Linked DNA regions of Homo sapiens: regions 1 and 2 are each linked to region 3. The links are contacts of gene promoters, found by promoter capture Hi-C in blood cells and fetal thymus (Javierre and others, 2016). All regions are on one chromosome and are shown on one strand. The core of a region is centred on a gene start or on the middle of the fragment in contact, and the rest is flanking DNA. Distances in the headings are between cores, read along the strand shown. Region 1 has its middle 41 kb from the start of LINC02896. Region 2 has its middle 2.1 kb from the start of PCAT29. Region 3 holds the start of UACA (uveal autoantigen with coiled-coil domains and ankyrin repeats).

Evidence for each region. The method cuts DNA at HindIII sites, captures the fragments that hold promoters and counts their contacts. A CHiCAGO score of 5 or more calls a contact.
Region 1: a fragment that was not itself captured here is called in contact with the fragment with the promoter of UACA in region 3 in 1 of 17 cell types (naive B cells); the score reaches 6.4 in naive B cells.
Region 2: a fragment that was not itself captured here is called in contact with the fragment with the promoter of UACA in region 3 in 1 of 17 cell types (naive B cells); the score reaches 5.8 in naive B cells.

What each region holds. Positions count from the first base shown.
Region 1 is chr15:69,501,621-69,505,695 of GRCh38, reverse strand. No RefSeq gene overlaps it. Among named protein-coding and RNA genes, the nearest start is that of LINC02896, 41 kb to the right of the region's middle. The HindIII fragment of the contact is 3,437 bases long and covers 490-3,926 here.
Region 2 is chr15:69,588,157-69,592,086 of GRCh38, reverse strand. No RefSeq gene overlaps it. Among named protein-coding and RNA genes, the nearest start is that of PCAT29, 2.1 kb to the left of the region's middle. The HindIII fragment of the contact is 1,326 bases long and covers 615-1,940 here.
Region 3 is chr15:70,761,285-70,765,293 of GRCh38, reverse strand. It overlaps UACA (uveal autoantigen with coiled-coil domains and ankyrin repeats), which reads left to right and starts at 1,736. Exons shown (of 19, transcript NM_018003.4): 1 at 1,736-1,964. The coding sequence starts at 1,887. RefSeq lists a silencer at 1,562-1,971. The HindIII fragment of the contact is 4,014 bases long and covers 375-4,009 here.

The sequences.
Region 1 (4,075 bases), core at 959-3,458, 1.3 Mb after region 3:
GCCAAGGCGGGCGGATCTCCTGAGGTCAGTAGTTCAAGACCAGCCTGACCAACGTGGTGAAACCCCATCTCTACTAAAAATACAAAAATTAGCTGGGCATGGTGGTGGGTGCCTGTAATCCCAGCTACTTGGGAGGCTGAGGCAGGAGAATCACTTGAATCCGAGAGGCAGAGGTTGCAGTGAGCCGAGATTGTGCCACTACACTCCAGCCTGGGCAACAAGAGTGAAACTCCGTCTCCAAAAAAAAAATAATAACAATATAATAATAATAATAATAATAATAATAATAAAAGCAGTTTCAGTCTCTGGGCTTTTGGACTTGCCAGTTCTCACCATAAGCTCCCATTTTCTGCAGAAAGTTTCAGGGCCCTGTGTCCTTTATCACCAAAAAGACTGAATAATTAAGCACTGTACAAATCCAACAGCTTGTCTCTCCCCGTAGAAAGCAGATCTTCCGTTTAGTTGTAACATTTACCACCACACAAAGCTTCAAGGCTGGGAGGTCAGGCAGAGCATTTCAGGAGCTAGTAGAGGGCCAGGAGCATGCTTCAAGGAGCTTGCCACATCACAGGAGCTCATGTCCTGGGTACTGGGGAGGCCCTCACTCTGCAGCACCAGGTTCCAAGCATGCATCCAGCTGCCCTCCACGACCTGCCATCTGTACCCTGTGTTTTTTAAGAGATGATGACACCAACTGCACTAGGCATTCCTGAGGGACACCCAGTTTTACACAGCGTGGGGGTGATGTTTTCTACGTTCTTTCCATTTTCCTTCCAATGATATTCAACAGCTCACTGGCCTTTGGGGCCCACCAGCACATTGGCAGTGTACACAGCACCCTGTGATGAACAAGGCATGTGGTCATCTGTGACCTCATCCAAACCTCACCAAACACTCTGTGCAGGGACAATGAAACAGATTGTTCAGAGATTAAAATTAAGGCCCAGGAAAGATAAATGGCTTATCCAAAGCCAAACAGCTAGAAACCAACAGAATTGTCTTCCTCTTTTCTTCCCCCCTCAAATGGCTTTTGAATTTATTTGCTTGATCAATGATGGTCCTGGCAAAAATTAGTTAACCAATGCTGAGACATATGTAATGAAACAGTAATTTTAAAATTGTCTTCCTCTTTCACAGACACCCACACAAGCACACATAGCCTTGTCCTGTCACCCAGCTGTGTCCTCTAAGAAACATGTACAATGAGCCCAAGATGCTAACAGAACATTAATTTAAGAAACAGTCAGGAGATTTGGATCTAAATGGTTTGGGGGAGTGGGGAAAGGGAGGGGTGAGGACTAGGACCCTGGGGTTAGACGGGGGTTTGAATCTCAGCTCCTCAATCAAGCTGTGGGGACAAGAGCTTAGCCTGTCATGACTTCAATCCTTCATCTATAAAAGGGAGATACTGGGGTTACTGTGAAAATTAATTGAAACCACTTGTTAATGGCATACAGCAAGTGCCCGATAGATGTTATTCCTCTCCTCCACCCCCATTCCACACTGAAACAACTTGCCTCTGATCTGCGCCATCTCGTTAAGTCCCAGGAGCCAACTCAAGAGCACCTTCCTTCCCTGACCATCCCAGTCCATCTTGATCCCTTCCTCTCTAGAATCTTTACAGCATTCCTGGTCTTCAACACATGATTTAGGGGCTGTTTATTTGCCAAGTGTGTTTTGGACTAACTAAACTTGAGGGGTGATGCCTTTTCCTAGATATTTGCTCAATCAATGGCATGGGGCTGAGCATAGCAGGTGCCTGATAAACACAAGAGTCATCCTTCCCTCTTTCTTGTCCTTACTGTATTTTTTGAGTTTCCTGGAGTATGTCACTATTGATCTAATATTGAATCAAATCAAACCTAGAAGAGCTTAAAGGCAACCACAACCCTAAAGATTTTGTGTGTGTGTGTGCACATTTTCTAGCTTGTGGCAGAGAATGCCAGCTGTCCACCAAAATCCTTTTCGCTCCTCTAGAGTAATAATATTGTAGTTGGCACACAGCTACTTAGCTGTGGACTACATTGCCCAGACACCTTTGTACTTGAGTGTGACCACGTTCTTGCCAGTGGAATGTGAGAGAATTGCAAGTCCAACACCCTTTCTACATCACCCCAAAGGGTACCCATTTTTAATTACTTTAATCCCTTCACAGGGGCTGATGTGGGAGAATTGCTTGAGCCCTGGAGATCGAGGCTGCAGTGAGCTGTGATCACACCACTGCACTCCAGCCTGAGTAACAGAGTCTCAAAAAAAAAAAAAAAATCCTTCCACATAACCACTTTATAAAGAAGAACTCACATATAAAACCCAAATGAGCCTATAAAATAGGAAGCTACATGATGTGAAGCAAGCCACTTTGCCTTTCTGGGCCTCAGTTTGTCCACGTGGAGGTGAGACTCTTCCAACTCTAACATCAAATGAGTCTAAGCTGGACTTTCATTCTCTTTACCTCTCTCCTCTCACCTGCCCCCTACTAGCTGCTAGGCAGGCTGGGAAACAGCAGCCTACCTGGATTCCCTTCTAATACATCCAAGTCCCGGTTCTTTCTGACTTACAAAGAGCTTCCTGCCTCCCTTCATCATGTTTGCAATACAGTTCTGTTCTGTTAATTTCCTGGAAAAAAAATTTTTTTTCCTCAGAGATTCTGCTGCAGACCTACCTCCCCCTAGTATAAAAAACCCATAGGCCCATCCCAGGCGGCCTCCATCTCCGTCAGCTGCCACGGTGGCTGAAGCCACCACACCCGGCCCACACAGCGCCTCTGGCCTACCTTCAGCTGAGGACAAGCCAGCATGGGAAGCACGGAGGAGCTGCCCTTACAGGGGGTGCCTTGGTTGAGTGCAGGGCGCTTTCATCACAGCACCCAGCGTGGAGGTGCAGCTACCATGCATATGTCAGTACAGCCACATTCAGCATTAAAATCTTAAAATGCTTCCACACCAGGTAGTAAATAGCCACTGCCCCAAGGGTCCCCTCCAAAACCCCCCAGAACTCCAATCACCTTTCCCGGTAGAGGGACCTGCAGGGGGCAGCAGCAGCTCCAGCACATTCACTTTATGCCTAAGTCTGTGTTCATAACTATGTATTTTTTTCTTTTGTTCTTTTCCTTTTTTTTTCTTTTTTACATTTGCCAGTTTATTAAAAAGGATATTACAAAGGATACAGGATGAAGAGACACATAGGCTGGATGCAGTGGCTCACGCCTGCAATCCCAACACTTTGGGAGGACAAGATGGGCGGATTATGAGGTCAGGAGTTCAAGACCAGCCTGGTCAACATGATGAAACGCCATCTTTACTAAAAATACAAAAGTTACAGGCGCTCGCCCGTAATCCCAGCTACTCAGGAGGTTGAGCAGGACAATCTTTTGAACTTCAGAGGTAGAGGTTGCAGTGAGCCAAGATGGCGCCATTGCACTCCAGCCTGGGCGATAGAGTCAGACTCTGTCTCAAAAAATAAAAAAGAGGCCGGGCACTGTGGCTCACGCCTGTAATCCCAGCACTTTGGGAGGCTAAGGCAGGCGGATCACGGGGTCAGGTGTTCAAGACCAGCCTGGGCAACACGGTGAAACCCCGTCTCTACTAAAATACAAAAAATTAGCCGGGCGTGGTGGCGGGCGCCTGTAGTCCCAGCTACTCAGGAAGCTGAAGCAGGAGAATCGCTTGAAGCTGGGAGGCAGAGGTTGCAGTGAGCCGAGATCGTGCCACTGCATTCCAGCCTGGGTGACAGAGCAAGACTCCATCTCCAAAAAAATAAAATAAAATAAAATAAAAATATAAAAAAGACACACGTAGGGCAAGCTATGGGGACACAGAGCTGCCTGTGCCCTCCCTGGAGCACCACCTTCAGGAACCTCCATGTGGAATGCCACATGCTGTCCAGAAGCTCTCCAAACCCAGGTCTTGTGGGTTTTTATGGAAGCTTCATGACATCTCCATTCCTTCCCTCAGGGCACAGAGCAGGACCCTCGGAGGAGAGAGTCTTATGACCCGTGTAACAGGAGAAACAGGGGAAGATTAGCATCCCGGCTTGGGGTTGCCGAAGGGAGGGCAGGAGAAGGTCGGAGGGATTC
Region 2 (3,930 bases), core at 28-2,527, 1.2 Mb after region 3:
TCAATAATTAGTCATTCAACAAATACCCATCAAGCTATGGCCCAACCCCAGCAAAGATATGTTGAAAAAAAAAAAAAACTTTTGAAGAGCAAATATAAGCCTTTATATATGGTTGACTTAGCCGTTTCTATTTTCCTTTCACAACAGAGAGGCAATGTTGATGTGCTACCAGTCCTAATGCAGCTAGAAGTTATCTGTTACACCAATGACCCCATCAAAAAGAGAACTGTTAACACAGGCCCAGTTTTTACTTTGCTTGTAGTGGTGGGGTATTAGCTAATTGTTGCCCATTAAGAGAAACAAATAATCCCCAGTGAGTCCCAAAAAGAAGTGGAAGTGGAGCTGAATCACCTGTAAGATCAGGGCTTCTCTTAGCTGCTCACAGCTGCCTGACCCAGTCACAGAAGAAGATGTAGAGGGGATTCATTCCATCTTACTTTTATTGGGTTTTCTTTTACTATGTGAAATGAATCTCAAGAAAACATCTCTCATCCCCCCAAACTCTATCATTGTTCTACTCCTCAATTTTAGTATTACTACTGTAATGATAAGATTATAGCTACTACATAATAAGATTAAACATTTAAAACCATCTAACAAATCACCCATAAGCTTACCCCCATCATTCAATCAACAGTCTTCTCTCTTGTCTCTTTTTTTTTTTCTTTTGGCACATTACCTCCCAAAGGTAGAATTTTCACAGACATGACCCTAGCATGCATGTCAGGTTGCAATTTGCTGTTTGATCCTGCCTGCCATTTTTTCATGTGTAAGCAATATTTTCTAGGCTCATGTTTCCCACTTATGACCTTCAACCCCTTCTAAAGCTCTACCCAATTATGACTCAAGGAATTCCCATTTTTCCCTCCTCTATTCTCCAGCTCTCCTTTGGAGTGCCACTTGCAGAGCTGCCTGGGAGGTGCCTCACTGCTGTCCTACAGGGCCCACTGACAAACCAGGCAGTCGCGTTTCCCCAGGCATGGCCACCCCTGCAGCCACCCCTGTGGCACGCTGCCACTTCTGTGTGAGTGTTCCGCCCATGCCCATCACCCATCACACACTCCGCTGGGTACCACACACTGCCTCCCCAGGTACTGATGTTTCCTCAGAGTGCTCTTGGCCTTTGCAGGGACCACAGCTCTCATTTACCTCCTTGAACACCCAGCACCTAACACAGAACATAATACATAGCAGATGCTAAAAAATATTGGATGAAAAAATGAGTGAATAAATAAACTAATGCTTTGTGGATGGACAAAGGAGCCATAAGGTCCCCTGGCCTCCTCTTTCTGCACATGCTTCTCCTTCTCCCACAGCGCTCTGCCACCCTTGCCAACGTATATGCTTTGAGGACTCATTCCCTAAACATCCACCTCAGGGCCTACAAGCTGCACACACAAGAAGGGCCAGGCTGCAGGGACTGGGAGTTGGTTCAGTTTATGTTGTCTTGAATCAGAGAAAGGAGCATCCCAGGACTTTTCCCACCGTCAGCTGTTCCCTCCCACTCTTTCCTGTCTGAGCTCTGGCTCTCCTCCCCATCTCGCCATGAATTCTTCCCATCACATCGGGGCATCTCCCTTCTCTTGCTCACTTAAAATAAGTAGTGAGCACCTGCTGTGTCTCAGATGCAGACACATCAGAGGAATCACTGTCCTCAAGGAGCTCACAGTCTGGCAGGTCACTGAGATGAAAATAAGTGCAGTAATATGATCTTACGGAGGAGAAGGCCGAGAAGCCTCGCCACAGAGCATAAATGGTATCTCCAGCTGTGCACGAGTAGTTTACGTGCCATGTGGGCTGAGGTCCCTCAGTGGCCTGCAGTGGGGTCTGATGTTCTAGTTTCAAGGTGTCCCTTTGGGTTAAGCATTGCCCTCTTCTTGCTACTGCTTTCAAAGGTGAATCCCCAACTTCACATCCCTCAGACTCTAGGATATGAAGCTTTCCACCCTCTCTAGAAGGGTTAGGGTTGCACTAGAGCATAAGCTTGCTGGCAGCTGGGGAAGGAGTATTATTGTGAGGAAAACACAGGAAGACAGCTTGGAGGCTCCAATGACCCACTTCCCCATGGTGAAGGTCAGCTTTTAAGAGGGTGAACCAGAGGCAATGGCTGACAAACCCAGGTCGTCTTACGACTTTGTGCCCTGAAAGATCTCAGAAGCCTCATTCCTGAACCATCAGCAGAACTTCGAACCTGTAAGGGAAGCTAGAGCTCTCTATGTTTGGACCTGCTCAGTTTTACAGCTAGGGAAACTGAGCCCAAAGAAAAAGAAAAAATGAGTGGGTCTCTCCCTTAAGATTCCCTTAATTGTGCATTGATTCCTGTTTTGCAAAATGACACTGGAACATGTATACCTCCCTTGATCAAATAATTCCACTTTGAGAATCTATCTAAGAAAATAATCCTAAGTACAGAAAAAGCTTTGGGCACAAAGAGAGGTTCATGATAGCATCGTTCAAACAAAAAGTACAAAATGAAGAGGGAACAGGCCAAGTAATTCTCCTCGATGGGAAACAAGTTGCAGTCTCTCCACTAAAAATTATCACTCAGTCCAACTTTTTAATAAGTGGGAAAATTCTAGTATGATATTAGAGTGGGGGTTGATGCAAGTTTTTATGTGGGCCTATGTGAAAAAAGCAACTGCATAGAACTGAGAGTGAAAAGAAAAAAGTTGGTTTTCCTGTGTGTTCTACTTGTTCTTTGTGTATTTTTAAGCAGCTATTATAGGTAGTGAGGTTATAAAAGAATATCCTGAAAGAGACTTTCATATTGGAAAAAATTAAAATTCTGTTTTTTAAATTTTATTTTTATTTTATTTTATTTTTTGTGTATGATAGGGTCTCTCTCTCTGTTGCCCAGATTGGAGGGCAGTGGCACAATCACAGCTCACGATAGCTTCCAACTCCTGGGTTCAAACAATCCTGCCACCTCAGCCTCCCAAGTAGCTGGGACTATAGGCACATGCCACCATGCCCAGCTGATTTTTTTTTAATAAGAGACAAGGTCTCACTATGTTGCCTAGGCTGGTCTCAAACTCCCGGCCTCAAGTGATCCTCCCACCTCGGCTTCCCAAAGTGTTGGGATTATAGGCATGAGCCACCACACTCCATCAAAAATTTGATTTTTAAATGATGATATCGAGGAGCCAACTTACCAGGAAAGGAAAGGTAGTTGCTAGCAGCTGGGGCAGCCTGTCACAATTAGTATGAAGGCCACTATCAGAGCCACTTTTTCCTCAAATGATCCCTTAGGACTTCTGCTAGACCACCAAGTATTCACTGGGATATAATCACCCCAAAAGATTTACTAAGCATTTACTGGCACTAACAGTGGCAGGCACTGTTTTGGTTGCTGGGGATACAGAAGTAAACAAGGCAGATGGGGTCCCTGCTCTCACGGAGCACACAGTTTAGTGAGGGAGGCATTAAATGATTCTGACCATAATTATCATGAACTATGACAGAACTACAAGGAGTCCCCTATCAACTGGGATTGGGTTTGGTTGCCAGTAACAGAAATCCACTATAGTGATGAAAACAAATGAAGGCTTTATCTCTTCCATAAAACAAGTCTAGAAATGGGCAGCCCAGGGTGGGAACGATGGCTCCCACAAAGTCCTCAGGGTTTCCTATCTTTCTGCAATCATATCCTTAGCACACAAGCCCAAAATAGGTGCTGTAGCTCCAGCCATCACATTTGTGTTCTGGGTAAAATGAAGGAAAGGTCTAAAGAACAAAATGCAAAGAGAAAAAAAGGAGTTGACTCCTTCTCAATTTCCTGGAAGGCTTACTCAGCAACGTCCTAGCTGCCAGGAAGGCTGTGAAATGTGGTCTTTTAACTGTACATGTTTCTTCCTCGTTAAATCAGGAGTTATTACAAAAGAAGAAGGTAATCATGGATGTCAGGAAGGAACCAGAAATCTCTGCCCCAGA
Region 3 (4,009 bases), core at 487-2,986:
AATAGTACAGTATTCCAGAAGCCCCCGACATCCCCTACCAATCACTCTTGGGGGAGTAGGATTTTCTGAGATGAATGTAGACAGACAGAAGATTATTGGGGGAGGGATCAGTATGCATAAAGATGTGGAAGTTGAAAGCCATGACCCATGTTTGGAGAATGGGCTGAAGAGTAATTCGCTTGGGGTGTTGGCTAGAGAACAGGGTCGCGTCCACGTTATACAGCTTTAAATGCAAAGAATTAGATTTTATTCGTTAGCTGCTGAAGGCTTTTGAGCAAGAGGAGTATTTTTGTAAGACTTATTGATGATGGCTGATAATTTATTGGTGATGGGACAATTAAGAGACTGAAGGTTGGGAGACTGGCTGGGAAGCTTCTGTAATAATAGTCCGGGTATGAGGTAATTTTGGCTCTGCAGTGGCAGTGAGAACAGAGTAACTGACCATACACAGACACTTTAAAGAGCCAACAAGAACTAAATGACTGGAGATCTAGAGGAAGGGGGAGGAATCAAAGAAAATTTTCTTCCAAAGATCTAATCAAGATGAAATTTAATAATATTTTTGGGTAGTTAGTTGTTATTTACTTGTTGTATAGGGTTAACACAGTCTTTGAATGCTGCCTCTCCAAGAAATTCTGAAAACTTTCTTACAGTATTTGAAGAAAACCTTGCGTTACTATAAAGAAACTCTAAAGAGAGCAACTGACCTTTCAGACAAAAAAGAGTCCTTTGTTAGTCAGAAAATGTGGACCGTTTGTCTTTTCAAATGGATGCATGCTACGATAAACGTTTTGCTGGGGGGAAAAATGACTCCAAAGAAGACTTTTGAAGATGTCACCCGAACAGCAAATTATTGGGTGCTGAGCACCTTCCTGTTTCTTCATCCTCTTAAATAATTTTTACTAACCCAGATTTCTAGGTAAGATGATTTAACTTCATCGTATACGTTTACATGTAATGTGTTTCTACAGAAAACAAAAAACCTTTTTGAAGAAAAAAGGGCGTAACTTTTTTTGACAACTTAAATCACTGGCTGTGGGAGTCATTTTTAATTGATGGCACCTCTTCTCCTCCCTCCCCGCCCCCATTCCGTCCCTTTGCTTCCAATACGGCGGATTCTTCACTCAACAAATAAACGAGCACGTAACTTGTACTGTAACTTACTATAACGTCTTTCAAGGTCTTTCTTAACTGTACGTTTTTCTGCACAATCAGCACCTTATTTCTTAGAGACTGTTTATTTCTGGAATTTTTGATGCGTGTGGTGGTTTCCAGGCACCAGGATTTGGTAGTAAAACAGGAGACTGAAAAGAAGTTGCTCCTGAAAGCTGTTCTGTGTGCAGGTAACCAAGAGTCATTTCTAAGACCAGACGGAAGGGAAGGAACTTTACTTGGTAAAGAGCGCGTGGGTGGAAAGAGGAGGGGAGTCCGGGAAGATGAGAGGTGGCAAAGGCGGGACCCCGTGCTCTCTCTAGATCTTAAGCTCCGGGTGGGCGGGCGCCGGTGGCCTGGAGCCCGGCCTGCGCGCATCTCCACGCCTCTGGCCGCCCACCTCCTCCGCCCCTTCCCGGGCTAAAGTTCCCAAACTTTTCCTCCAGCTGGGAGAGGAAGGGTGTTACTCAGTTTAAAAGGGAAGTCCCGCCCCATTCCCGCATTCCGATTGGTCGCGGTTTGCCACGCCCCCGCCAGGGCAGCGGGTCAATTGGCTACGGGAGGGGAGCCCCGCCTCAGGCCTGTCGACGTCTGCTGCCCGGGGCCCGCAGGTGGCAGGCAGGTGGGGCTGGTACAGCCCGCGCCGCCTCTGCTGCAGCCGCTGCCGTCTACTCCTTGCGCGCTGGCACTCCGCAGCCTTTAAGGTTCGCGCGGGGGCCAGGCAAGAGTTAGCCATGAAGAGCCTCAAGTCCCGCCTGAGGAGGCAGGACGTGCCCGGCCCCGCGTCGTCTGGCGCCGCCGCCGCCAGCGCGGTGAGTCCCGCGGTCCGGGCTGCGAGGCGCTCCGCTCCGGGAGCAGCGCAGCCCTCCTTTGCTGGCGAGTTCGCGCGCCGCCTTCCTCTGCTTTTCCTCTGCCAGTTCGGCTTCGGCGGCCCTGGCGACTCCTCCCTGAGGCCGGAGACTCCGTCAGCCCAGAGACCCCGGGGATCCTCCCCGCCGCCGCACCCGAGCCTCTACGGGTCTCTTCCCCACCCCTTTCTCCCAAGCCTCCGAACTTCTGGAAGAAACCTCAGTGGGGCGGTTCTGGCCCCCTCCTCCTAAATCCAAAGTTCCTCGATTGGCACCCCTACTCCGCTCTTTCCGTTGACCCCCCCTCGTCGCTCTCCTCTCCCGGCGCTCGCCCTGCTGCCCACGCCCGCTCGGCCGTGTTGGCTCCCCAGTCCCCGGGGCCGGGGCTCGCACCAGGTAGGGCAGGTGGGCAGGGCTGCGCACCCCGCGCCACCGTGCCCGGACTCCGGACCTTCCCCGGGTCTGAGACAGCGTCAAGCCCTGCCGGGCTGGTGGACGTCCCGTGCTGGCCGCTGTCGTTGTCACTGGGAAGTTTGATTCCCCAGCGAGGCAGAGGGAATCGGCTTAGTCGTAAAGACAAAACCCCACAGGGTGGTGACCCTAGAGGTGGTGAAGTTGGGAGGGGTGGTGGTGATGTGGGTTGTGTAAATCGCACCTGTGGGGCGGGATCCGTGCGGGGCTCTTTCGGTGCTGACCTGCAGCGCGGCCTCAGTGTGCGCGCCAAGGAGTAGTCGGGGCCTCTTTAGTTGGCAGGAGAACAGAAATCTTGAGAAACAGCCTGACCGCAGATGTTGTGATTTAGATAATTTGTCACGTTACAAGAATGGCGATATCATCAAAATTCTATATCATTAAAATAAGTGCCACTTACAAAGTCTTGGAAGAGTCGAACGTAAAGGAGTTGTTATGCTCCAACTGCACAGTTACCTAGTTGGGGTAATTAAAATGAACCTTTACAATTCAACGCAGATTTTACCAAATGATTATATTCTTTTTATCAGAATACTAATTAATCTGCTTCTGCTTTTTTGAGTTAATTCAGTTATGCCTTTCTCTCCACCTATATCGAGGATTATTTTACTTGGACATAAAGGAAATTGTGGAGGAACTACCTAGACTTAAATTCCTATTTCAAAAAAAGAGAGTAGATTCAGATGACGTAATTGATGTTCTTTGATAAAGCATGAAGTCGTTTTATAAGCTCATGGAAAACAGAGATTACTTTGTTTCACTTTTTTTTTTAAAAAAAGTAACTGGCAGAAATGTCATTTAGTGATATTGGAGTTCATTACAGTTAAGATTCTACTTCTGTAATGCAAGTTGTGTTTTTAGCCTTATAGAAGATACAAGTTTCTAGATTTATTAGCTTTGTTTTCCCTGGTTGTGTTTGATTTGCACTAAGGATGTAAATCCCACTTGGAGGTTTATATGCCTTAATTTTATCCAGTTTTCTAGAAATGCAGAGTATTTAGTAGGTATTATCAGCATGATAGTTTGCATTTTATACATTTGGAACATAAAGTGCATATCTCTGAGCTTAAATCTTTAGCACTCAATTGAGCGTTCTATTTTTCTCAAAATGACATAATAAAGATAAACATGATATTAACCTATTTATGTAGAAAAAGCAAACATTTCTGTTTAAATATTAGAATAAGTTCTGTACAATTTAAAAATAAAAGCGTAATGAGGAATAAAACTTAGAATGAATTCTGTAAAATTTTAAAATAAAACTGTAGTGATGAATAAAACCAAACCAAGCATTGATAGAATAAAACACATGTACAGGAGAAATAGACCCTTTCTGCTTTTCAATCTATAAACCATAATCCCAGATTTGGTCACATGTATATGTATTTATTGTATGATTGGGCCACCCTTTTTTTTTTTCTTTTTGCCTTTAAAAACAGTTATTTTTTGAATAGGTAATATAGCACATGGTTTAATATTGGAAAGGAATAAAAATATTTACAACAAAATATCGACACCGTGTTTCCCTAACCCCTGCT